Linked DNA regions of Homo sapiens: regions 1, 2 and 4 are each linked to region 3. Evidence: promoter capture Hi-C in 16 types of primary human blood cells and fetal thymus (Javierre and others, 2016). All regions are on one chromosome and are shown on one strand. The core of a region is centred on a gene start or on the middle of the fragment in contact, and the rest is flanking DNA. Distances in the headings are between cores, read along the strand shown. Region 1 overlaps SLU7 (spliceosome associated SLU7). Region 2 has its middle 9.2 kb from the start of PWWP2A. Region 3 holds the start of SAP30L-AS1 (SAP30L and GALNT10 antisense RNA 1). Region 4 overlaps PTTG1 (PTTG1 regulator of sister chromatid separation, securin).

Region 1 (6,649 bases), core at 328-2,827, 6.0 Mb after region 3:
CTTCCCCAGTTATCTCATTTATAATACACTCCTCAGAGTTCTGTGGGAAATACATGTAATTTGAGTTGAGTGTCATAGTTACTAATCATCTAAGAACAAGTTAAAATTTGAAACATGAGACAGCATGTTTTAGTTTGACTTAGGAGCTTCGGTTGTTTTATACCTTTAAGAACCAAAGACAATTACTTACAACAATCTCCTTCCCAGCTTCTCCAGTACAATAGGAATACTTGAAAAAAGAGTGACAGCATTTGTATCCCCATCGGCCTTCTTTCCAGTACGATCCCCAGATATGCTGCAGAGAGAGAAATTAAAAAGCTTAAAAAGGAAGCTGAAATTAGAAACTTCTGTATACTGTTGATAAGAGTATAAAATAATACAGCCCATTAAAGGTAATTTGGGAGAAAAATTATGGGGATTCAAGGCTGGCTAACAGGGAGAAGGTAGTCTGACCTGAAGTGTGAGAAGCAGGACCTGTAGTTACAAAACTCTTAAATTCTATTCCCAAAAGCCTATTAAAAAATTTAGGGTATCTGACTTCTCTTGAAAAACGTAGGAGTGGGAAATTCTGGGCCTATATAACCACTTGGCAATAATCAGCTGTTGCTGAACAGTGGATGCCCCATTAGATAGGGCTTGTGTTCTCCAGTTTGTACAATTTGCCTGGCTCACTTCACTCATGTATGATCACTGGTCTGGCTCCTATAGGGAGTTAGGTTTTTGACCCTCAACTAAGAGAGACAATTGTAGTTTGGTTACTTCAAGAGAACAGCAAAGGACAATATATGCTTTATGATGTTTACAATGCAATATGAATATACTACATTACTTATTAAATATTCTTGTCAAAATATTTAACTTATATCCAATCAAGCCGTTAGACCTAAATTCCTATTTATAAAACATACAGGGATAGAGAAACAAGTTATATAACACTACTAGGAACCAGTCAATACAGAATATGAGACAATTTACAAACTAATTGGCCTAATCTGTTAAATGGTCACCGTCATGAAAATGAAGAGATACACTCTAGAAAAGAGACATAATAACCGCATAACGATCAAAAGAAATTTGAAACGAATTCTGACTAAAACAAAAAATAGGTGTTAAAGGCATTTTTCTGTATATTTTGGAAAATGTGATTAATGACTAGATATTAGGTGATATAATGTTAATTTTCTGAAGTGCAATAATGTCGATGTGGTTATATAGAAGAAAATCCTCATTTTAAGGAGATATGTGATACAGCGTTTATGGATAAAATGTCATGATATACATAATTTCCAAATGTTTCAGTCAAATAAATATATACATAAACTATATGTGTGTATATATGTGTATTTTACATATATATGTAAAACTGTGCATATGCACACATACAACTAGACAAAGCATATAAGGCAATATGTTAAAAATTTCAGAATTTAGATGATGGGTATATAGATGAACATAGTATTCCTTCAAAATTTTTCTATTTTTGAAAAAATTCCATGAAACAGTTAAAATTTTTTTTTTTTTTTAAAGCATAGAGAATACAAATGGTTAGCTAATAAAGTTGTAGTGGAAAAATGCAATACAGAGCAAAACCAACAAGGACACAAAATTGTTCCAGTTTAGCACATACTGTGTGATTGTGGATCTTCACATCCTCCTCATACTTAGAGCAGGCAACAGCCCGCTCCTGTCCTTTGATGACTGTCCCATGTCTTGAGTACTCCACATAGTCTTCAGTCTGGGCTAAAAGCAATTCAGCTGGAGGGGCATCCAAATGTTCTTGGCCACCATACTAAAAGGACATTGGACATTATTCAATACATTTTACAACCTGATTTGCATTTAAATTTCCAGAAAACATTTATTTCTAATCAGAAAGAAAGGGAACATTCTTTACTGGGTTTTGTTATAGAAAGCACAGTAGGAAAAAAAAAGCCACAAATTTTTTCTGAGGCAAATAGAAGATGTCTCAGTTGCTATTCATCTGTTGAGTACAGTAAGTTACAAGATGGCCATAAATTCCTCTTATCTTTCTATACATGCCCTTTTGCCACAGGGCTTTGCTTTTCTTCCCATCAAGAGACGAAGTCTTTCTCTGTCCCTTGAATCTGGGCCTGACCATGTTATTTGCTTTGACCAATGAAAGTTGGCAAATGTGATGCAAGCAAAGGCACTTATGTACCACAGCACACTTTTTGCTGCCACTCTCTAGAACTCTGAGAATGCCATTTTAAAAAGCTGTGCTACCCTACTAGAGGATGAAAGACCACATGGGGTGGAGATGAGCTGTCCCAGAAGAGGTCCCCTTAGGACAATTAGCCTGTTAACTGCTAAACACAAGAGTGAGGCCATCTTAGTTCATCATCTAACCTCAGCTGAGCAAGCCCAGACCAGGAGACTTGGCCAACTGTGAGAAACAATAAATGTTTATTTTAAGCTATTAAGATTTGAGGTAGCTTGTTTTGCTGCAAAAGCTCATACAAAATTACCATCTGACTAAGAGAAAGGAAGAAAAGGACTATTCTTCATGGATTAAGAGGGCTCTCTTTGCATTATTTTCCAAATGTAAAACTAACGCTTATTAACTAGTAACTTCTCTTTAACAGAAGTTCTTCTTTAGCATTTTGGTCAAAATTACCTTTTCCAGGATGCTTTCTTTCTGCTGTTCTTTGAAATCTTCTTTTTTGACTTTGAAGGACTTATACAACAGCTCTAGCTTTGTAGGATCTGCCTGTAGATGCACTTCAGATCCCTTGTCATAGGCTTCCCATGCAAACACTAGAGTAATTCAAAACATCTTAGTGAGTTGGCAGCTGCATTACTGTATGCTTCTTGAAAACAAGCTTTAAACAATCCCAAACGTCTTATGAGCTGATATAAAATGGCTTGACATAGAGGAAACACTTACACTGTGTCTGAGCCATTGAAATGGTATCTCCTGTGTACCTAACAAAGTTATCTCCAGCATAACTCACTCTGTAAATACAAATAAAGAAAATGTTTCAGAGATTGATTTAAGGAAAATTAATTCGTAAAACTGAATCTGAATTAAAATGAACACCATCTATGGTCAGGTCAGAAAACAATTAACTTTCTCTCATCTTAAAATCTGTACATTTAACTTGATACTTACTCATCTGGATTCTTTCCTGCATTGGCATAAGGATTCTCTCTCATTGCTCTAGTTTTTGGATCATAGTAGGCAGAATTTGGATCTAAATTCCTCAAATACTAGAAGAAAAAAATATTTAAAGAATTAATGTTTACTCACAGCAAAAAGATTTCAGCAGACTAGTTGGAGGAGTTGAACATGATCAATTAAATAAATGTGTGTATACATTTCTGGGGTTCAGGTGAAGAGAAAAAACAGAATGAAACCTTATCTTAGAATGACTCTGACTATATTATCCATATGCTACCCAGAGTCGATAAAATTTATGCTGGGAAGACAAGTATTTTTCAAATATGTATGTTAAGCTGACAAGACTTACTTTTGCAATATCTTCTCGAATCCTGAGATTCCGGACAGTAATTCGTCTCTTGGAGTCAAAATTCTGTCCAGGCATGTCAATATCATCTGCATATTTATCTTCATCCTCATCTTCACTATTATGATCTTTTTCCTAAAAGAGGGAGAGGAAGGAAAAGTAAGAAGAAAAGAAAGCAGCATGTAGTTCTTTTTTTTCCCCTTTCCCTTTAACCAAACCCTTATTTACTTGTGTTCTTTAAAAGCTATTATTAGTGTTATTTATTATTAGCCATCAGAAATTTAAAAATTTAACATATACTCAGAGACAGCAAATATGTATTACCATCTGAGAATTTGGTTCCTCTTCTCCCCACTGGTGTTTTGGAGAATTCTGCATCATGAAAGAAGAAAAATCATTCATAATCTCATTCCACTTAATCCAATTAACTTTATTATTAAGATAATAAAGTATTATTATCTTATTATAAATAATATATTTATATAATAAAATATATTTTATTATATATTATATTTATATTATATATAATAAATATTTATTATATAATATATAATATGTAACTTATAAATAAGTATTAAGATAATAAAACTTAATTCTAACTGAACAAACTCTCACACTTCTCAGTTATAATGAGCGCAAAAATTCTGAATACAAGAGTGCCATTGTAAATAATTTTATTACACTGTCTATAAAGCCAGCAAATTTCAAGAGAATTTTAATTAAGATTATAACCACAAAATGGTAACAGAAAGATTAAGATGTCCAAAGTACCCAATAAATATTAATTTCTAAATGTGTTAGTCTTCAGACATACTGTATTCATTAAACGTTACTAGTTTCCTAGTAAGTCCAAAAAGAAAATATTACTGGGTTCATGTCTTCACAGCCAAAGTGAAGTTTGGGCAATGAAAAAAATCTACAAGTGACACAGTATTGTAATTTAAGGAGAGGCCAAACTCCTTGTCACAAGGATACACTTTTCTTCGCTAGCAATTGGTCAGAATACTTTCTAACTCCACAGAATGCCTACACTAACGTGGTATTTCATCATGTCCCTTCATAAAGGCTTCAAAGATTAAAAATACTTAAAAAAAAAGAGAATACATTATAGCATTAGTGAGGAGATGCAGAAACACGTGTATGTATATATACTATATAGATGGAAGCATAAATCTGCATGGCTTTTCTGAATGATGGCTAAGTGATATGTCATAAAAATTTTAGAAATACAAACTCACTGAAATACACTTCTAGAAGGTTATCCTAGTATCATGTCAATTATATAAAGATGTATAAGAATGTGATGTGCAGTGTTGTATATGTGCAATGTTTTTTCAAAACACTGGGAAAAAATCAAATTAATAGATCACTGGTTATATAATGTATTGCACTCCATGGAACACTGAACGGCCATTAAAAGTGATTCTATCCAAGGGGCAGAAAAGTATGTATCGTTTCCTAACTTTTTTGATTAAAAAAAGGGGAGGGGAGAGACAGATAGGATAAGGGTATATATTTGTATTTGTATTTATTCAAGACAGTCTGAAAGGAGCCACACACATACACAAAAGAGTTGGGGCGAGGGGAAGTTTAGTGTTAGGGTGGATAGAAACAGGGGTGGAGAGACTTCGCTGTGCATCTTCTTAAATTGTTTTAATTTTTGAGCCATGTGAATTCATACAAAAATAAATGATGCTATAGGTCTATAAATATAGACAGAAAACACGTTCCCACTGTACTCTATGTTGTTAAATTAAAAAAGAAGGTAATAAATGAATATATAAAGATGGATTCATGTAAGAAACATTTTGTATTCTAGCACACATGAACAGGTATATGTGGACAAGAGAGACCTGGAAAGGCCTACTTCAAAATGTTCACAATTAACACAGGGATATTTTCTTTTTTATATTATGTTCTAATTTTTTTCCACTTAATATGTGTTACTTTCAAAATTAGAAATATAAATATTTTGTAAAAAATAATTTTTTTGAGTTCCCACTATTTGCTAGTTCACCAAAGACATTTACATACATTTCTATAGTGACAGCTAAGTCTCTAAATCTACTGTATGTGGTTCATCTTAATATCCAAGCATCCTGGGAGCGGGGAGAGATAGCATTAGGAGATATACCTAATGCTAAATGACGAGTTCATGGGTGCAGCACACCAACATGGCACATGTATACATACGTAACAAACCTGCACGTTGTGCACATGTACCCTAAAACTTAAAGTATATAAAAAAAAAATAATCCAAGCATCCAAGTGGGCAAAAATCATTAGCCCCTTACATACATTAAGTATCCTTACTGGGGAAATAAATTACATTACGTTTACAACAAACAACAGAGAATACATTAGAACAAAAGAAACAGGCCCTTTTTCTTTTCCCAAAGTTAGTAATAAATAAAAATAATCACAACAATAATAGCTACTAATTACCCAGTGTTTACTATGTGATATGTATATAAGCTTCCTGGGGGTAGGTGTTATCATTTCTATTTCAGACATACTAAACTGCAGCTCAGAGAGGCAAATTCACTTTTTTTTTTTTTTGAGACGGAGTCTCACTCTGTCGCCCAGGCTGGAGTGCAGCGGCATGATCTTGGCTCACTGCAAGCTCTGCCTCCTGGGTTCACCCATTCTCCTGCCTCAGCCTCCCGAGTAGCTGGGACTACAGGCGCCCGCCACCGCGACTGGCTAATTTTTTGTATTTTTTAGTAGAGACGGGGTTTCACCGTGTTAGCCAGGATGGTCTCGATCTCCTGACCTTGGGATCCACCCGCCTTGGCCTCCCAAAGTGCTCGGATTATAGGCGTCAGCCACCGCGCCCGGCCGGCAAATTCACTTTTCTAAGAGCATGTATGTCTCATGGAGCAGAGATGGATTTTGTTATTGATTGACTGATTGACTGATTGATTGAGATAGAGTCTCGCTCTGTCATCCAAGCTAGAGCACAGTGACGTGATCTCGGCTCACTGCAACCTCTGCCTCCTGGGTTCAAGCGATTCTCCCGAGTAGCTGGGACTACAGGTGCTCGCCACCACACCCAGCTAATTTTTGTATTTTTAGTAAAGATGAGGTTTCACCATGTTAGCCAGGCTAGTCTCGAACTCCTGACCTCAGATGATCCACCTGCCTCGGCCTCCCAAAGTGCTGGG
Region 2 (6,155 bases), core at 832-3,331, 5.7 Mb after region 3:
TTGTATCTGTGGTTGATCATACTCAAGGGGTGCTGATCCTCAATAACCAAACTTGAGTAAGTCTAAGTAAAAACCCAAACACAAGGGTATTGGTCCCTGGAGAGGAATAACTATGGCTAAATATGGCTTAGTGGTTATCTCTGGGCCTGGTTTCTCAGGAAATAGAATTATAGACAGAAGATAACATGGGGAACATGGCCATCAAACCATAGGGGCTGAGTGAATTGCTCCTCGTGTTCTGGGCCTATTTCTGATGAGGTAATCAATATTTCTCTTCTAGGCCAGGCGTGGTGGCTCACGCCTGTAATCCCAACACTTTGGGAGGCTGAGGCAGGTGGATCACCTGAGGTCAGGAGTTTGAGACCAGCCTGGCCAGCATGGTGAAACCCCGTCTCTACTACAAATACAAAAATTAGCCGGGCGTGGTGGTGGGTGTCTATAATCCCAGCTGCTCAGGAGGCTGAGATGGGAGAATCACTTGAACCGGGGAGGCAGAGGTTGTGGTGAGCCAAGATCACGCCATTGCACTCCAGCCTGGGCAACAGAGCAAGACTCTGTCTCAAAATAAAAAAAAAAAATAAAAAAAATAAAAAATTATCTTCTGGAATTAGATCACCTGCTCCCAGACCAAGGCTGTGATGGGTAACTAATGACAAATATGTCATTTGTCATCTCTGCCTCTGCCTCTGTGTGTGTGTGTGTGTGTCAGTCAGTAGTTCTGAATGTATCATGTATAGGGGGAACTCTCTGAGAATCTGCTAAAAAGTTATTTTGTGCATATTATATGATTTTTTTTTTTGAGACAGAGTCTTGCTCTGTCACCCAGTTTAGAGTGCAGTGGTGTGATCTCAGCTCACTGCAACCTCCAGCCCCTGGGTTCAAGTGATTCTCACGCCTCAGCCTCCCGAGTAGCTGGGATTATAGGTGCTTGCTACCGCGCCTGGATAATTTTTGTATTTTGTATTTTTAGTAGAAACAGGGTTCCACCATGTTGGCCAGGCTGGTCTTGAATTCCTGACCTCAAGTGATCTGCCCACCTTGGCCTCCCAAAGTGCTGGGATTACAGACATGAGCCACTGTACCTGACCGATACTATTTATATATGGTACAAAACCAAACAAAACAAATTTATGCTGTTTGAAGTCGGGATGGGGGTTACTCTTGATAGGAGATGATGGGGAGCAGCACAGCTAGTGACGGAAAGAGAATATGAATGGTGCTTTCTGGGGTTCTGATAATTTCTGATTCTTGATCTGGGTACTGGATACACAAGTATGTTCAGCTTGTAATGATTCATCAAGCTCTGCACTTACGTGTACTTTTCTGTAAGTAAATTTATATCAGTTATCTATATCTGCTAGTGGTATTAGTGTCTTAACAACATACATTTATTTCATCACCATGCTCAGAGTGAGAAACCTAGGCAAGGCTTAACTAAGTCCTCTCTCTTCTTTTTTTTTTTTCCTGAGACGGATTCTCGCTCTGTCACCCAGGCTGGAGTGCAGTGGCACGATCTCGGCTCACTGCAAGCTCTGCCTCCTGGGCTCATGCCATTCTCCTGCCTCAGCCTTCCAAGTAGCTGGGACTAAAGGTGCCCGCCACAATGCCTGGCTAATTTTTTTGTATTTTTAGTAGAGACAGGGTTTCACCATCTTAGCCAGGATGGTCTCGATCTCCTGACCTTGTGATCCACCTGCCTCAGCCTCCCAAAGTGCTAGGATTACAGGCATGAGCCACTGTGCCCAGCAAAATCCTCTCTTTCAGTCTCTCACAAGGCTACATATCAAGGTGTCAGCTGGGGGTGTGGTTTCATCTGAAAGCTTAACTAGGGAAGGATCCATATGATGATTAATTTTACGTACCAGTTTGACTGAGCCAAGGGGTACCCAGATTAAACCATATTTCTGGGGTGTTGAGAGAATGTTTCTAGATGAGATTAGCATTTGAATCAGTGGACTCAGTAAAGTGGATGGCCCTCAGCAGTGTGGGTGGGCATCATCCAATCTGTTGAGAGGCTGAATAGAGCAAAAGGCAGAGGAAGAAGGAATTCACTTCTTTTGCTGCCTGCCTGCCTGCCTGTTGGAGCTGGAACATTAGTCTGCTCCTGTCCTTGTACTGGGATGTACATCATCAACTCCCCAGATTCTCAGGCATTTGGACCTGGACTGGAATAACACCAGGCTTTCTTGGGTCCCCAGCTTGCACATGGCAGTTTACGCAACTTCTCAGCCTCCACAATCAAGTGATCCAATTCCTTATGATAAATTTCTTCCAAAATATTTATATTTGGGCATATGTATTTTGAAAGTCCATTTCCAAGGTAACTCACATTTTCATCTACAGCAAGCTTGTTCAACCAGCGGCCCATGGGCCACACGCAGCCTAACGCAAATTTGTAAACTTTCCTAAAACGTTATGAGATTTTTTTTGTGGTGTTTTTTGTTGTTGTTGTTGTTGTTGTTGTTGTTGTCGTTGTTCTTCAGCTTTTGTTAGTGTAGTGTATTTTATGTGTGGCCCAATTCTTCTTCTTCCAGTGTGGCCCAGGGAAGCCAAAAGATTGGACACCCCTGATTTATAGGATTCAGTTCCTTGGTGGCTGTTGACCAGAGGCTGCCCTCAACTAATTGCCACGTGGGTCTGCTCCATAGGACAGCTCAAAACATGCAACTTGCTTTGTCAGAGTAAGCATACAAGAAGAGCCAGAGGAAAAATTGGTGTAAGCAAGAAAGAAGTCGCAGTATTTTGTCGTGTGATCTCAGAAGAGGCATCCCAGCACTTTTGCTGCACTCTGTTCAGAAGCAAGTCACCAGGTCCAGCTATTTACAAGGAGAGAGGATTCCACAAGGGCATGTATGCCAAGAGGCAGGGATCACTGAGAGCAATTTCAGAAACTGATACCACACAACTTAAAAGTTTGAAGAAATGAAAACAAAAGATTTCAAATGGGCTGGGCACGGTGACTCATGCTTGTAATCCCAGCACTTTGGGAGGCTGAGGCAGGCAGATGACCTCAGATCAGGAGTTCGAGACCAGCCTGGCCAACATGGTGAAACCCCATCTCTACTAAAAATGCAAAAATTAACCAGGCGTGGTGGTGGGCGCATGTAATCCCAGCTACTGAGAGGCTGAGGCAGGAGAACCGCTTGAACCCAGGAAGCAGAGGTTGTGGCGAGCCAAGATCACGCCATTGCACTCCCGCCTGGGCAACAAGAGCGAAACTCCATCTCAAATAAATAAATAAATAAATAAATAAATAAATAAATAAAACTTCCTGCTCTATATGGATACCACACATCCCTTACCACCTGCTTCTGATAACAGATTCTCACTTCACACCACAGGTGAAAGAGCCATCATATTACAAAGGTAAATTTCAATATTAAGGACAATCTCCATAATAAGAGCCAACATTAATCCAGCCATTTATGAGCACTATGTGTCAGGCAGAGACAGCCACCAGATGAGCTTGGGGGAATCAAGTAATAAAATGTGGGTCCTATCCTGAAACATTTTGCCCATAGTCTTCGGGTGTCCTTTCACACAGCTCCCCCTTTTTCTTTGTATATTCCTAACAATTCCCATGTCAACATAATTCCTCAAAAATTGACCCCACAGGCACCACTGTGGAGGGGGTGGTTCTAGGTGAACCATTTGGTTTGCCTGGGACTGAGGGGTTTCCTGGCATGCAGGACTTTCAGTGTTAAAAGTGGGATGCTGCTGGGTGCGGTGGTTCACGCCTATAATCCCAGCACTTTGGGAGGCCAAGGCAGGCAGATCACGAGGTCAGGAGTTCGAGACCATCCTGGCCAACATGGTGAAACACCGTCTCTACCAAAAATACAAAAAAATTAGCCGGTGTGGTGGCACATGCCTGTAGCCCCAGCTACGTGGGAGGCTGAGGCAGGAGAATCCCTTGAACCCGGGAGGCAGAGGTTGCAGTGAGCCGAGATCATGCCACTGCACTCCAGCCTCACAATAGAGTGAGATTCCGTCTCAAAAAAAAAAAAGTGGGCCAGGCTTGGTGGCTCACGCCTTTACGTAATCCCAGCACTTTGGGAGGCCAAGGCGGGCAGATCACAAGGTCAGGAGATCGAGACCATCCTGGCTAACACAGTGAAACTCCGTCTCTACTAAAAATATTTTTTAAAAAAATTAGCCAGGCGTGGTGGCGGAAGCTTGTAGTCCCAGCTACTCGGGAGGCTAGGGCAGGAGAATGGCGTGAACCCGGGAGGCAGAGCTTGCAGTGAGCCAAGACCGCGCCACTGCACTCCAGCCTGGGCGACAGAGCGAGACTCTGACTCAAAAAAAAAAAAAAAAAAAGTGGGACGATGCTGGGTAAATCGTAATGGTTGGCCAGGCTTCATGCAATGTGTCTTGCAGAAATGAACACTAATCCTTGCAACAACCCAGCAAGGAACCGACGCCTCAGAGAGGTCAAAGAAAACTTTGAAAGCTGGAGATGGAGATTAGGATGGGACTAGGCCTGTCAGTCTCCAAAGAATGTACTCTTGGCAACTTTGATCTTTTGGCTATTTTTTTGTTTCCTTAGTCATCCCCTGGGACAGGATCCTTGGGCAAATGGCTTATTGGTGTGCATTTTTTGATCAAACCTTCTAGTTCCAAGCCCACAAGTCAAATCTGACCTTAGATTCTAAACATCCCTGATTGTACCCATCCCCTTAAAAAAAATTCTAGGAACATTTATTTACTTGACTTTCTTCTCAGCTATTAGATTGTTCTTTTTTTATTTTATTTATTTATTTATTTTTGAGACAACGTCTCCCTCTGTCACCCAGGCTGGAGTGTGGTGGTGCGATCTTGGCTCACTGCAACCCCTGCCTCCCAGGGCCCAGGTGATTATCCCACCTCAGCATCCTGAGTAGCTGGGACTACAGGCACATATGACCATGCCTGGCTAATTTTTGTTTTTTTCTGTAGAGACAGGATTTCACCATGTTGCCCAGGCTGGTCTCGAACTCCTGAGCTTAAGCAATCCACCTGCCTCTGCCTCCCTAAGTATTTTGGGAGGCCAAGACAGGAGAATCGCCTGGCCAACATGGCAAAACCCCATCTCTACAAAAATACAAAAATTAGCTGGGCATGGTGGCATGTGCCTGTAATCCCAGCTACTCAGGAGGCTGAGGCAGGAGAATCGATTGAACCTGGGGAGGCAGAGGTTACAGTGAGCTGAGATTGCACCATTGCACTTCAGCCTGGGTGACAGAGCAAGACTCCATCTCAAAAATAAATAAATAAATACATAAATACATAAATAAATAAATAATCACAAAATTGCTGGGTCCAGTCGCTCACGCCTATAATCCTAGCATTTTGGGAGGATCGTTTGAGCCCAGGAGTTCAAGACCAGCCTGGGCAACATAGTGACTCCTCATCTCCCTCTTCTCTACAAAAAATTAAAAAATTAGCCAGGTGTGGTGGCATGTGCCTATAGTCCTAGCTACTTGGGAGCCTGAGTGGGGAGGATTGCTTGAGCCCGGGAGGTTGAGGCTGCAGTGAGCTGTGATCATGCCACTGCACTTCAGCCTGGGTGACAAAATAAAAGAATCACAAACCTGAGATCATTTTGATAGAATTGCTTCTCTGCCATCACAGTTATTCTCTGTCTCAGTTTCCCTATCTGTAATATGGGAATGATAAGTCATTTCTTTCTTTTTTTTTTTTTTTTTTGAGATGGAGTCTCACTCTGTCACCCAGGCTGGGTGATTCTCCTGCCTCAGCCTCCCTCCTAGCTGAGATTACAGGTGCCCGCCACCACACCCAGCTAATTTTTGTATTTTTAGTAGAGACGAGGTTTCACCATGTTGGCCAGGCTGGTCTCGAACTCCAGTACTCAGGTGATCTACCTGCCTCAGCCTCCCAAAGTGCTGGGATTACAGGCATGAGCCACCACACCTGGCCAATCTACTTCAAATACTTGCTGTGAAGTTTATGTTAAATTAGATCACACATGTGAGCCAGTAACTTTTCTCATTATCTTTTCCAAGGGTCTGGAGGCCTGCGTAGGAGTGTGGACATCACCTGGTTCAGCCAATGTAAATTCTGAGCCAGGAACTGGGGCCCAGGCACCAGTCTTAGCATTTACTTCATAGCCATTCACTCCCAAGCAGCTATTTCCATGTTTACCTCCAGTTGTT
Region 3 (6,194 bases), core at 1,173-3,672:
TCGCTTGAATCCGGGAGGCAGAGGTTGCGGTGAGCCGAGATCGCGCCATTGCACTCCAGCCTGGGCAACCAGAGTGAAACTCTGTCTCAAAAGAAAAAAGAAAAAAGAAAAAAAAAGAACAGTTACAAGCATGAACTCCCCCACCACCACCACCACACACACACACACACACAGAGGCTGGCTGGGCGTATCAGGCTGGGTGTAATCAGGAAAGAGTAACCTTACAGTAATTTGAACAGGAAAATAATAATATAAACATGTATTAATTATAATAGGGGACTGTAGTCCCCTACAGTTATAAGGAACTGCCTAGTAAAAAGAAAAAAGAATGCTAAATAATACAAGAATAGCAGATATAAGTAGCCACTACCTCAAGGACTGAGACAGAGCACCTAAGAAAAGGTCCTAGATCCCCTTAGACCAGGGCAAGTTGGTGCAGAAGAAGTTGTGTACCGCAATAGCCTAGCATTGAATACAAATGCTGTTTAGAAAAATATGGGGAACATGGAGGTTTCATCCATACCAACTGACTTTGGACCCAACATCACACAGTGCCTGGTACAGATACCCAAGTGTTTTCTACATATATGTCTGAACACCCCAGATAGGAGATATTCTTTTAGGGCAAGGGTTATGTTTCATCCTCCTCCTATAGCCAACCCTATACTTGGTATACATAATGAGTTCAACAACAATTTACTTTTGAACAGAATATATGAACTCTGAGGGAAGACTCCTATTAATCTGTGCCTTTTTTCCATTAATTTTTATTCTATTTTTTCTACTGTAAAAACAAAAATAATGCTTATTAAAGAAAATGCAAAGGTTAAACAAAAGGAGAAAAATATCAGCCATATTCCTGCTACCCAGAAATAATCACTGTTAGTACTTTGGTGCATTTTTTATACCAATAGTTTTCTTTTTTCTTTAAACATAGATGTACAGACATCGTATCCTCCATGCAATTTCATATCCTGAATTTTTTTACTTATCATAAAAAAAGCATTTCTCCAACTCCTCATCAGCTCTTTATTTAAGAATTAATGGTGAATTATTCTCTATAGAAAATGTTTACATTGATGTTGAAACTACCTCAAATGCTAACTGCACAATCTCTTTCTGAAGATTTTAGGTAGTTTACTTAACCACTTCCCTTTTGGAACTCTGAGGTTCTATTTTATTTTTCCTATTATAAATAATTCCATAATGAACATCACTGTACTTCATATTATCTCTGATAGGCCTATTTCCGACGATGGCTGTCCCACGTGTGAAATTACCAGTTCAGATGCTACAAATGCATTTATGGCCACTGAGCAAAACTTAAGATCACCAGCCACCTGCTTCTAAACATGGAAACTGGTAGCTTTCCCTTTTACAACAGGACACAAACCCGAAGCTCCTTCTATGCCCTCTAGTACTAACACTTGCTTACCTATCACCTAACACAGCCTCCCCTCTTCCCTGCCCATAAAACGCTGCCCAGCCCTACATAATTACACGACCCTGGGCTGGTCCCATCGCCTTTCGGACCTCATCAGTCCCCATGCTGCGCAGTTGGAGAGTGGCATGACTGAAGTGCTGGACCAGAGCATATCCTACGGCCCCTCCTGGAGGGGAGGTGGTGCCCTGGGCGCCGAAACCAAGCGCAGGGTCTTGGCAGGGCGCAGTCGCTTCGCCGGTAGACCCGGGGACTCAAAGCAATAGAACTACAGCTTGGAGCTCCAGGGAGAGCCCAAGACACCGCAGCCCTTCCCCATCTAGATTCCGAGATTGGCCCCTGGGCCCCACTCCCAGCCTTCACTTCATCTCCCCTGAAGCCCTTTCTCTTGCCCGCGGCTCACCTAGTCCACCCTCCAGACCTCATTCGGACTTCCCATTCTTCCCAGTGGAGGGGTCGCCCAAACCCCTCGGGGTCTCCTTTCCCCCTCTCCTTTTCTTTCCGCGCCGTCCAAGCCAGTCCCACTCTCCACACTCTGGAAGGTATCGGCTACCCCCAATATTGCGACTGCCTTGCAAGATCCCCCCATCACCTCCTCCGCATGTCTTTCCACGTATCTGTATGGGGTTGTCCCTCTGTCTTTCCCGCCATGACTGGCTTTCCGTCCTATTTCACCCACCCTTCCTCCCACGGATCCGCGAGTCCTCTGGCCCTGGCCCTTTCATTTTATTAGTCCGCCCCTCTCCTGATAGCACCTCTATCCTCTTTAGGTCCCCTCATATGCCCCTCCTCCAAGTCTGTCCCTCAGCGTCCCCGTCCGCGTCTCTACTGTCTGTCCCCGAATGTGTTCCTCTGTTCCTGGAGTCTGGCCCTCGGTCCAGCCAGGCCCCTGCTCACCATCCCTCCCCCGGGCCGGAGAGTCTGCAGCCCGGTTCCCGGTTCTCGCTGGGGTAACTCTTTCCTCTTCCACTTTCTCTACTTTGAACCCATCCCAGCAGAGTCCAGGAAGTAGCCTGGCGCCGGAGACTGGCGGCGGCGACGCCCAATGGGACGCGCCAGCGGCGGCGGCAGCCCCGCCCAGAGAGCAAATGAGACCAATGGTCGCGTGAAGGCGGGACTTCCGCTGTCCCGCGAAGGGCGGGGGGAGCGAACTGTTGTGGTGCGGAGCGTTCGGCGGGCGGCGGCCGGGCGGCCCAGGGGCTGCCGCGGGACTCGGGGCGCAGCCGAGTGGCTGCAGGGGTGGAGTGGGCCGGACGAGCCGCGGGGCCCGGGTGCCGCGGGTTCGAGGCCGGGCCCCGCGCGAGGAGGCCGCGCCACCCCGGGGGAGCTGCCCGGCAGCGAGTTTGCCCCGCTGCCGAAAGAAGGCGGGAGCCGGCAGGGGCCTTCGAAACCCCCTGGCAACCCAGGCCCGGAGTCCTTGGGGAGCGGCTGTTTCCTGGGACGCCCTCCCGGACACCCCCGCTGCAGGGTTACGGTTCTGGGCCCCCGGCAGAAGGCTCCTCCGGGTGACCCCCGGCGGGGCCCTGCGAGCCGCGGGAGCCGACCCCGGGGCCTCGAGCCGGGAGGAAGGGGGCTTCCGGAGGCGGAGGGCCGGGGGCCGAGGGAGCCGGGCCTCTCGGACGCGGGGCAGGGCAGCGCCCGGGCTGGAGACGGACTCTGGGACCCTCGGCTGCGGGGGTCTCAGCGACCTGCCCCGCGGCAAGCGCGGCCGCGGAGTGGCCTACCGGGGACCCTCCCCCAGAGGGACCGGCCCGGGGCGGGGAGATGAACGGCTTCAGCACGGAGGAGGACAGCCGCGAAGGGCCCCCCGCCGCCCCAGCTGCCGCCGCCCCGGGCTACGGCCAGAGCTGCTGCCTCATCGAGGACGGCGAGCGCTGCGTCCGGCCCGCGGGCAACGCCTCCTTCAGCAAGAGGGTCCAGAAGAGCATCTCGCAGAAGAAACTCAAGCTGGACATCGACAAGAGCGTGAGTCCGCCCCCGCTCGCGTCTGGGCCCCGGCGCCCCCAGCTCTCCGTCCGCTGCCCTGGGCTCCAGTCGGGACTCCCCGGGCACTCCCCGCCGTGGGCCTCGCCGCCCCGGCTCTGCAGAACTGAGTTGGACTCCGCATTTCAAAGGCCGCTCCAGCGCTGACATGCTCTGACTGTGATTCTACCCAGATCCGGGAGGATGGGGGCGGGGGCTTCAGGACTCCTGCTGCCTGGAAAGATTGGACAGCAGTTTCCAACTTGTTTTATTGGTTTAGACTTTAGAGCAGGGAGAGGTGGGTTAGTTTTGTTGGCCCTTGAAGGAGCAAGAATCGGAGCGGGGAGTGATGAAGATACCCGGCTCTTTTCCAACTTCTCTCTCCTTCTAGGAACCCTGTTATTCCTTCAGACAGAGAAAGGTGGCAGTTACTTCCCTGGCTCCCGCATCCTCGGTATCAGCAGAGGGTCACCGAGCTAGCTGCTTCGCAGGCAGCTGTGGGAATGGGTTTTTCTAGGATGTGGCAGAAATAAGGCCAAGGCCAGGTCTTGAGAAATGGCTCTTGCAGTCGATGTGACTGGAGGGGGGAAGAAAAGAAATCAATTTTCTTAGTGGTAGTTTCTTTTGAAATAAGGGGGTGGATATTTAAATTTAAATCGGATTGCCCTGCTCTTTGTGGCTTATTATAGGAAACTCCTCCCGTGTGACTTCACCACTTCTAGTTAACAATTCTGAAGCTGTGCCTATTGTCAACCAATTAAGAACTTTTTAGTTTGACATCTGTTGCTACAAGCCTTAAGTGATTGCTTCATGATTAGGAATTGGAAATGAGTTAAGGGGATATTTAATATTCAGGTAGACTAGCTAAGAGCTTAGGTGGTTAACATCCATTCTCTTCTAGAATCAGAATTTCTCCACAGTTGGAGGAAATCAGAGACTGCTTGTTAAACTGAAAGGGAGTGCACGTTTCCCCTCTGATTTTAGGGTTGAAACAGGCCCAGAGATAGGAAGTGAGGGTGTCAGGTACACACAGCACCTAAGAGGCTGGTTAATTTCTTAAAGATATTATCTAATTTACTTCCAAGCCCTATACATAAGTCTTCATTAAGTCTCTAATAAATAAAAAATCTCCCCTGTCCTTTTTCTTTTCTTTTTTTTTTCTTTTTCTTTTTTTTTTTTTTTTTTTTTTTTGAGACGGAGTCTCACTCTGTCACCCAGGCTGGAGTGCAGTGGCAAGATCTCGACTCACTGCAACCTCCGCCTCCCGGGTTGAAGCGATTCTCCTGCCTCAGCCTCCTGAATAGCTGGGATTACAGGCGTTTGCCGCCATGCCTGGCTGATTTTTGTATTTTTAATGGAGATAGGGTTTCGCCATGTTGGACAGGCTGGTCTTGAACTCCTGACCTCAAATGATCCACCCGCCTAGGCCTCCCAAAGTTCTGGGATTACAGGCGTGAGCCACTGCGCCCAGCCCCTGTCCTTTCTTCAGACTCTTCCCTCCTACCCCCATTTTTAAGTTAATCATTATAATACAGTTGCAGCTCTTGCATGGACAGGTGCTATTTTTAAGTGGTTGGGAGAGAGTTAATGGCTTTCTTACTACAAATCTCTATCAATGAATGCATGAATGGAAATATCTGAGAACAAACAAGGGTCTAGACACCAAGGTGATCCCTCCTTAGGTCACACGTTGAGGTGAAATGCTTATGGCAATGAATTCATCCACTTAGAAACACTGCCTACCTTCCGTGTAGGTTGTTAGAAGCTGCTTTACTTGAGCAGCTTATAATAATAATTTCCAGTCCTTAAAAGAATCTTCCAGTCCTTTTAGATCACTGGATGCCTTCCCATCTGAATGATTTTGCTGCTGCAACTGGGACTCCTTTTATTTACCCATTGACTGTACTGGAAAACCTGTGTTGAGCTATGCTGATCATTTCACACACACTGTCTAGAAGAAGGGCAGCCTGAGCCTAGCATTAGTGTTCCCAAAATGTAATACTTCTGAGGTAGTAAGGTTTCCAGGTGGAATCACTCAAAATTTGTTTTAAGGTGGTGTTGTGGAGTCATTATTTCTGAAAGGGATTCTATTTCTTTCTCACAGGCTTGGGCAGGAATTCAATTCCAGGTAACTGGTATGTTACAAGAATTTTTAGCTATTGCAGAAAGTGAAGGAAAAAAAAAAACTAGAGCCTTTGCTACCACCCTCCTGCCCCAACCCCACTCCCAAAGGCCACTGAGCTCTGAAATTTCTGAAAACCAGTATGTACTTGAAAATGGTTAAGGAGAAAATGATTATTTATCTTGTAAGAGAGTCTAGCAGAGAACCTTTTTAAATAACAACACCAGAAATTCAATTCAGGCTGTTTAACTCATTTTATATAGACTTTGGCAGTGTTCTGTGATCTGTTAAAATACTAATATACCTCCAGTTGACATATTTCTGCTTTTTTTTTCCTGGAGAAAAGTGGAAGTTGAGAATAGTATAAAGGAAAATGCTGGAGTAGGAAAAGACATGTACTGGGGGGGCAGAAGGCCTGGGTGACCTTGGCCAGGTCATTTCCTCACTCTGGATGGCTTCATTTTACCCATTTAGAAAACGGATTGGGGTCAATGGGATTGCACTAGTGATTGCTAAGTTCTCTTACAGCTAGGATTCCGTTATTCTATTGTCCTGATCTGAAATCTCCCAGCCAAAGCTTTAGGAAGCCACCTATTCTCCCTGTTCTCCTATGAAGTTTGTTACTGTGAACTTGAGGAGCAGTTGATCTGAGTGGACTCGCCAGTCTAG
Region 4 (7,027 bases), core at 106-2,605, 6.0 Mb after region 3:
GTAATCACATTACATTAATGTAAATTTTTTTTTAACATAAAATATTTTTTGTTCTGGAAAAGTTTGGAGAAGAATGGCATGGTTTATATTTTTGAAAATTTGCTTTATTTGGCTTAATACAAGACAACTGGATTCTTATCAAATTCTATATTCACTCTTACATCTGTTAAAATATACGAAGAAAACCTGGCTTCACACAGATACGTTTTTAATAGTCTTTTCAGATAAGTGTGGATAGGTTTTTTTGCCACTACACTAAAACCCACAAGTGGCTGTTTCTGAATATAAAATTGCAATGTGGAATCTGAAACCGTATCAATGAGCATTTTGTATCTTGACAGTAAAATCCATTGGTCTATTTTGCACTTGGAATGTATCTTATATTCTTGCATCTATCTTGCATTGACCATTCAGAAATACTGGTTCACTGAGATATGTAGATACCCACATGTTGAGATGCTTTATTATACAATATCAAAAGCACATTAATACCACAACTGATCTCATCAGAAAAGTCTAAGCACCTGTCAAGCTAATGACTGCAGATAAGTTTTCCAAAATTCCTTTTTTTGGCCAGATGCAGTGGCTCACGCCTGTAATCCCAGCACTTTGGGAGGCAAGGCGGGCGGATCACCTGAGGTCACGAGTTCAAGACCAGCCTGGCCAACATGGTGAAACCCCGTCTGTACTAAAAATACAAAAATTATCCGGGTGTGGTGGGCGCACCTGTAATCCCAGCTGCTTGGGAGACTGAGGCAGGAGAATCGCTTGAACCCAGGAGGCAGAGGTTGCAGTGAACGGAGATTGTGCCACTGCACTGCAGCCTAGGTGAAAGAGTGAGACTCTGTCTCAAAAAAAAAATATTCATTTTTTAATTTTTGACAAAATTTTAACGTTTTATATTCTGCCATTGGCAACAAAGGCTGTCAGTTTTCCTTGAGGTGATAGACTTCTTTCATTCCTTTAAGAAAAAGTGTGACAAGCACCCAGGTCTGAGTGACCATGGGATTTCTTGCAGTTGTTAATTCAAGTAAAAACAGTATTCCAGGAAAATGTTCTCTAGTTTTAGCTTGCAACTCATATAGTTGCACAAATCCTTTTAATCGTATTTTGGTGTACAGTGGAAGTGCTTTATGGCATACTTCTCATTTTATCACACAGAACATTAAAAAGACATCTCAAGGATGGAGAGCTAATAAAATTAATACTTTCTACTGCATATGGTGAAGTGACAGTAAGTGAAACTGGCATTTTTAAACTACAAGCGAAGAAGGATGCAGAACAGAGAGACTGCTAATATGGTTTACTGTCACTGCCTTGATTTGTGTTGAGGCACCAGCAGCTTTCTCCACCGCTGCCTTGGTACCATCATTACAAATGTCAACCCAGTGGAAAAAGGTGTGAATATTGTCTTGAAAATAGTTTTGACCTCATGGACCCCCTCAAAGGGTCTCAGACCACAAGGGATCTACAGCCCACACTAAGAACTGCTGCCCTGACAAAAACGCTTTCTCTCTGTAACAGACTTTGAGAGTTTTGACCTGCCTGAAGAGCACCAGATTGCGCACCTCCCCTTGAGTGGAGTGCCTCTCATGATCCTTGACGAGGAGAGAGAGCTTGAAAAGCTGTTTCAGCTGGGCCCCCCTTCACCTGTGAAGATGCCCTCTCCACCATGGGAATCCAGTAAGTGAGCAAGTGCCCTTCTGGAAGGGCTGCAAACAATTTGTTTCATAACACTTCCATTACCATGGGAAGAGTTGTGCGGGAGGTGAGCCTGTGAGTAATTTCTGTCCTTCAAATGACAAGGATTAGTTTTCAGAAAAATAAACTATTCTCGATTAATATTGCTTTTCAGTCCCAAATGCCCCAGTAAAATTGTTATTCTGGAAACTGGATAGTCTTACTACAGCCAAAAGATTAATTCTCACTTACATCTTCTTAGGCTATAAGTTGAAGCATATATAATAAACTTGCTTGGAATGATGATTCCATGTTATATCCAAAGCTAATATAAGATCAAAACACCTGTGCTGTAGCATAGACTGACAATAACTTCTTACTGCAGAAGGTCTGAGGTCTTCGTTTGAACTGGTAGTCAAAGCCAACATTATGTTTTCTGTTTGTTCTGATGTGGGATAATTTGTCCTAATAAGTTACATTAGTGAGACTGTTAACTCTTACTTTGGTCTCTAAGAACAATAGAGATTCAGATACTTCTAAAACTTACTTCCTAATGAAAGTCAATTCTGGGGCCACAGACACATTCCAAAAAATGTGTCAGGAGGGGATGCAGGTGATTGATTTGACAAAGGGAAAAACATGAATTTTTGATTGACAGCTAATGTCTATGTTGATATGGACAATGACTCAAGGATTTGCAGAAATTTTAATAAGAGATTCCTGTTTTCTAGATCTGTTGCAGTCTCCTTCAAGCATTCTGTCGACCCTGGATGTTGAATTGCCACCTGTTTGCTGTGACATAGATATTTAAATTTCTTAGTGCTTCAGAGTTTGTGTGTATTTGTATTAATAAAGCATTCTTTAACAGATTCTTCCTAGTATTGTGGTTGCTTTTCCATGGAGGTTACTTAAAATAACATGAAAGCTAGCTGAGGTGTTTAACAAAGAGTCTATAATGTGACAATAGAGATTTGTCTGATGTCTAAAAACTTAAATCTTTTTGGTTTAACAGCTTATTTTAGAAGCTGCCACTGTTTTTTCCTGAAAAGTATACCCCTCAATGTGTACTTTATTGACTTTTTGTGGCCATTAACTAGTGACAGTTATTAGATCTCTTAATTAGAAGAGCTACTTCCAACTCATTAAGTATCTATTGCTGGGCATTCTTTATTGCCGGTTCTACTTAGTTTCTAATGACTTTAATACTCAGTATTGAAAGGCTCTAAATCTGAGAATTCAGCCTCCTTGGGATCTTCAATTAGATTCCTTAAAGATCACTGGAGATAATTTACTGATAGTAAGGTCTACACTCCACCTATAGGAAACTGTATTTAGTTGTTTACCTTGTGTTGGACATGAGTATTTGAGAAGCATTATTATGTTTAATGTTTGACACTTTCCCAGGTAAGACAATGAAGCGCAGAAGTTCATTGATTTGTCAAAGATGTGAAGAGCTAGAAAATTATTAGAGCTGGTATTTTGATCTCAGTTCTGAGGTTGGAATCAAAATAGAGATGGCAAATGGTTGCTCATAGGTTTTCTTTTTGAGGGAGGGGGTGGATATTTTAAAAACCTTAATCATTTCCACTATTTAAAATTCCAGTGTTTCACCAATCTGGCTTTGGAGATTCTCTTGAAAAGAGATGTGTCCATAGTAGACCCTGTTTCCAACACTTGCTGGGGCTGGAGGTAGATTGCAGGCTGCTGCCTTTTAGGTGGAGTATAGGCTTTCTATCCCACAGACCCTGCCTTAAATGGCCTCAGTGAGAACTGAAGTGATCCTTTTACCTTTCATGTCTCTTCTGAGACCTAGCCTACTTAACTCACTTTACTCGCTTGGGCCATGTAGTAACCTGAATTTGACCCTTGCTTGATGCTAAGTTATATAAGAAGTCTTTCCCTTGATATATCAGTAGCTTCTATGGTCAAGTTAGAATGTGAACACTTTGCCATTGTCATTGGAGGAAGCTGAAGGATATTAGGCATGAAATACTAAGAACACCTACAACCGCTTATCCTGACTTTAAAACTTTTTACCTTCTAAATACAACTGAATCAGTGTGACTTTCTGGAATTAGTGGAAAGGCAGACTTCTAGGAGAAGATAATACCATAAGACTACTAGGGCACTTGGCTTTAGGGGAGAGTAATAGGTTTAGCATCCTCAGGTAAAATAGGGCTGCTAAGAAAACCAAAGTATAGGTTGGACACAGTGGCTCACACCAGTAATCCCAGCACTTGAGAGTTTGAGGTGGGAGGACTGCTTGATCCCAGGAGCTTGGGTTCAACCTGGGCCATGTAGTGAGACCCTTGTCTCTCAAAAATTAAAAATAATTAGCCGGGTGTGGTGGCGCATGCCTGTAGTCCTAGTTTCAGGAGGTTGAGGCAGGAGGATTGCTTGAGCCCAGGAGTTCAAGCTTACAACTTGAGTGGCTATAGTCATGCCACTGGGTGGTAAAGTGGGTGGTAGAGTAGCCTGGGTGGTAGAGTGAGATGCTGTCTCACAAAAACAACAAAAAAAGCAAAGTGTAGTTCTGAATGGCTTTCATACTCTGCAACACAAACTGAAGCTTTGGAAAATTGTCTTTTGTGGTAGAGGGAACCAAGGGCTGGGAGCAAGGGGACTAGTCAGTCCCTTACCAGTTAATTGCCGTCCTCTGGGTCAGAACTGAGTATAGAGGGATCTGATCTTTTCATCTGCTGTTAATCAGATTGCAATGTGCATAATGTGTGCTGAGACTGAGAACTTTAAGCAGATGCTCCTCCATTAATACAGATAATTTGCATCTTGTGGGGGTTGTTGCTATTTTGTTCTGACACTTTTTGAAATAAGACAGACTTTATTCATACCTTTACAACTCTGTAAACCTTCTGCATTTCTCTACACTACCTCTGAGCCTGCCTCTCAGGATACTGTACCTTCTTATAGTAGGAGCTAACAGTCAGGAATGCCATTATCTTGCTACCATTTCTTCTTTCTTATTACAAGTTGTATTTTTCTACTTTCCATGCCAGCCATGGATTTTACCTTTTTTCATGCTGGGTATTTTTACATTTCTATTAATATTCTTAAACTTTGTTCTAGAGTATGGGTAAGGTACCTAGAAGCAATTTGATTCATTTGAGACTTGCCTTTAATGTTAGGCATCACCAGAGCAGCATTTAGCCCAGGGCTCATTTCCCCCTACTACTGAAGTGTGAGATGCTTAGGACTCTGCTGCCCCCTGAATTATGAGGTTTTCCTGTCTAGCTGGTGGGAGCAGACACTATTCCCAGCCCTGTGTGGGCTTCAGGAATTCTTCCCTCTGATCTTTTCAGCTATATGGATCAGTGCTCTTCTGAATACTACAGGGAGACCCTCTGCAAATTTCCAGGGTTCTCTCTGTGCAGCTCTCTCCTCTCCAGTGCTCTGCTCTGCAAACTTGGCCTGCCTTGGCCTGACTCTGCTCTGTCTCTTCAACTCAGGAAATTCACTGGGCTCTGCCTGCCTCCCTTTCTTCCCCACTCTGAGGCCTGGAAACTCAAAAGTAGCCAGTAAGGATAGTCATCGGCCTCACCTCACTTATTTCACATTCCTCAGGCATCGCTGTTCTCTGTCGCCTGATGTTCACTCTTTGGGCAGCCCTCATTTCATATATTTTGTCTTGTTTTTTAGTTTCAGGCAGGAGAGTAAATCTGGTCCCTGTTACTCCATCTTGATTGGAATTGAAAGTTCCTTCTAGATATTCCTTTCATTTTTTTTCTTTTTTGAGACGGAGTCTTGCTCTGTCGCCCAGGCTGGAGTGCAGTGGTGCAATCTTGGCTCACTGCAAACTCCACCTCCCGGGTTCATGCCATTCTCCTGCCTCAGCCTCCCGAGTAGCTGGGACTACAGGCGCCCACCACCACGCCCAGCTAATTTTTTTTTTTTTTGTATTTTTAGTAGAGACAGGGTTTCACCGTGTTCGCCAGGATGGTCTCGATCTCCTGACCTCGTGATCTGCCGGCCTTGGCCTCCCAAAGTGCTTGGATTACAGGCGTGAGCCACCATGCCCGGCCTTTTTTTTTTTTTTGAGGTAACATTCACATAAGAAAATTCATTTAAAAATGTACAATTCAGTGGCTTTTAGTTCAGAGTATATGCAACTATCACCACTGTCTAATTTCAGAACACTTTCATCACCCCCAAAAATAAACCCATGCTCATCAAGCACTCATTCCCCACTTCATTTACTTTGGAATGATGTCCCTCTGCCACCAGGATGAAGTCTGAGTTGCTCAGTGTGGCTCACACGGCCTTGTGGTGGCTCCTTGGGGGTGTAATTTCCTGTCCTGATTCACCTGGCCAAACCTGTCCATCTCTAGTACTCCAATGAGATGCTTTTCTTACCAGAAGCCTTTGCACTTACCATGCTCGGCTGTGTCTGGTCCTCTCCTCCGCTCTACTGGGAGCAGGATGAGGTGTGTCCTGTGCACTGGTGTATTCTCTGCCTGGCATGTGGCAGGTGCTTCAGGGACTTGCTGAAATGAGTAAAGATGTCATCAGTCCCTGGGGATCCAGGTTTCTAGAGACCCAGCGACTGCACTGTACCCACTGTTAGCATCACACGGTATCAGGGCCAGGGAGCCTGACTTCAAGGTTTCCAGAGAGAGAGTGGTGGGGGCAGGCACAGGTCTAGGAGGTCAGCTTCTCCTACCCTAGACAGTTCCTGGTCACCTGTCTGTCTGTGCCCCACCAAGCCCAGGTATAACCTGTTTACTGAGAAGCTCCAGCTCTGCTGGGGAAACATAAACTGAGTTTCTTTCTTTTTTTATTGCCACCAACTGTGTTTTGTTGACCTGTTCTCCTTTCCTCCTTTCTGGGTGGTGGGTGATGCTGAGCAGCATTCAGACAGATTTCATAGCTTTCCAGTTACTTTTGGTTAAAATTAAACTTTGCTTATTTTAAAACTTGAGGTTCACACCTATTTCAGGCTCTTCTCCCTCTCCCCTAGTACAGGCGAGGGCTTGGCAAAAGCCCATGTGTATGCTCTGCTCACCACACATGTCCCTTCTCCCCTTCCGGTGTTATGACCCTCATAGGGGCTTAGTCCAGCCCCAAGCCTGGGAGGACGGCTGGAGGGAGAAAAGAGTCTGCTCGTGTGACAGGCCACTTGTTGGTTATGGGAAGTGTGCTGGCTTCGTTCTGGCTGTTGTGCTCTGCACGATGCTGGTGGCCTCTGCTCATGGGGAGGTCCTTGTGTAGAGAATCACCCTCTTCTCCACGGCTGAAAACCCTGTCCCTCCTGAGAATGGCAGCCTGCCTCTCTTCCCACACCTTTCCCAGGTGGGCCCTTCTATTCCTTGGTCCAGGGGCTGTCCAAGGCCTC

Evidence for each region. Contacts are between HindIII fragments. The CHiCAGO score rates a contact against its expected background, and 5 or more counts as called.
Region 1: a fragment that was not itself captured here is called in contact with the fragment with the promoter of SAP30L-AS1 in region 3 in 1 of 17 cell types (total CD4 T cells); the score reaches 6.3 in total CD4 T cells.
Region 2: a contact is called between a fragment that was not itself captured here and the fragment with the promoter of SAP30L-AS1 in region 3, in 1 of 17 cell types (non-activated CD4 T cells). The highest score is 9.5, in non-activated CD4 T cells.
Region 4: a fragment that was not itself captured here is called in contact with the fragment with the promoter of SAP30L-AS1 in region 3 in 1 of 17 cell types (total CD4 T cells); the score reaches 6.5 in total CD4 T cells.

Annotation. Positions count from the first base shown.
Region 1 is chr5:160,404,841-160,411,489 of GRCh38, forward strand. SLU7 (spliceosome associated SLU7) reads right to left here. Exons shown (of 16, transcript NM_006425.5): 7 at 3,810-3,857; 8 at 3,489-3,620; 9 at 3,131-3,228; 10 at 2,906-2,973; 11 at 2,636-2,775; 12 at 1,628-1,789; 13 at 191-295; 14 at 1-40. Among named protein-coding and RNA genes, the nearest start is that of FAM200C, 8.1 kb to the left of the region's middle. RefSeq lists a silencer at 1-149. The HindIII fragment of the contact is 2,522 bases long and covers 317-2,838 here.
Region 2 is chr5:160,125,569-160,131,723 of GRCh38, forward strand. No RefSeq gene overlaps it. Among named protein-coding and RNA genes, the nearest start is that of PWWP2A, 9.2 kb to the left of the region's middle. The HindIII fragment of the contact is 527 bases long and covers 1,819-2,345 here.
Region 3 is chr5:154,443,400-154,449,593 of GRCh38, forward strand. It overlaps SAP30L-AS1 (SAP30L and GALNT10 antisense RNA 1), which reads right to left and starts at 2,423. Exons shown (of 3, transcript NR_037897.1): 1 at 2,339-2,423; 2 at 1-81. SAP30L (SAP30 like) reads left to right here and starts at 2,598. Exons shown (of 4, transcript NM_024632.6): 1 at 2,598-3,406. The coding sequence starts at 3,206. RefSeq lists enhancers at 2,222-2,341, 2,395-2,895 and silencers at 2,472-3,001, 3,132-3,241. The HindIII fragment of the contact is 8,481 bases long and covers 1-6,100 here.
Region 4 is chr5:160,426,191-160,433,217 of GRCh38, forward strand. PTTG1 (PTTG1 regulator of sister chromatid separation, securin) reads left to right here. Exons shown (of 6, transcript NM_004219.4): 5 at 1,525-1,683; 6 at 2,412-2,549. The coding sequence ends at 2,491. Among named protein-coding and RNA genes, the nearest start is that of PTTG1, 7.8 kb to the left of the region's middle. RefSeq lists an enhancer at 6,240-6,329. The HindIII fragment of the contact is 5,478 bases long and covers 1-4,094 here.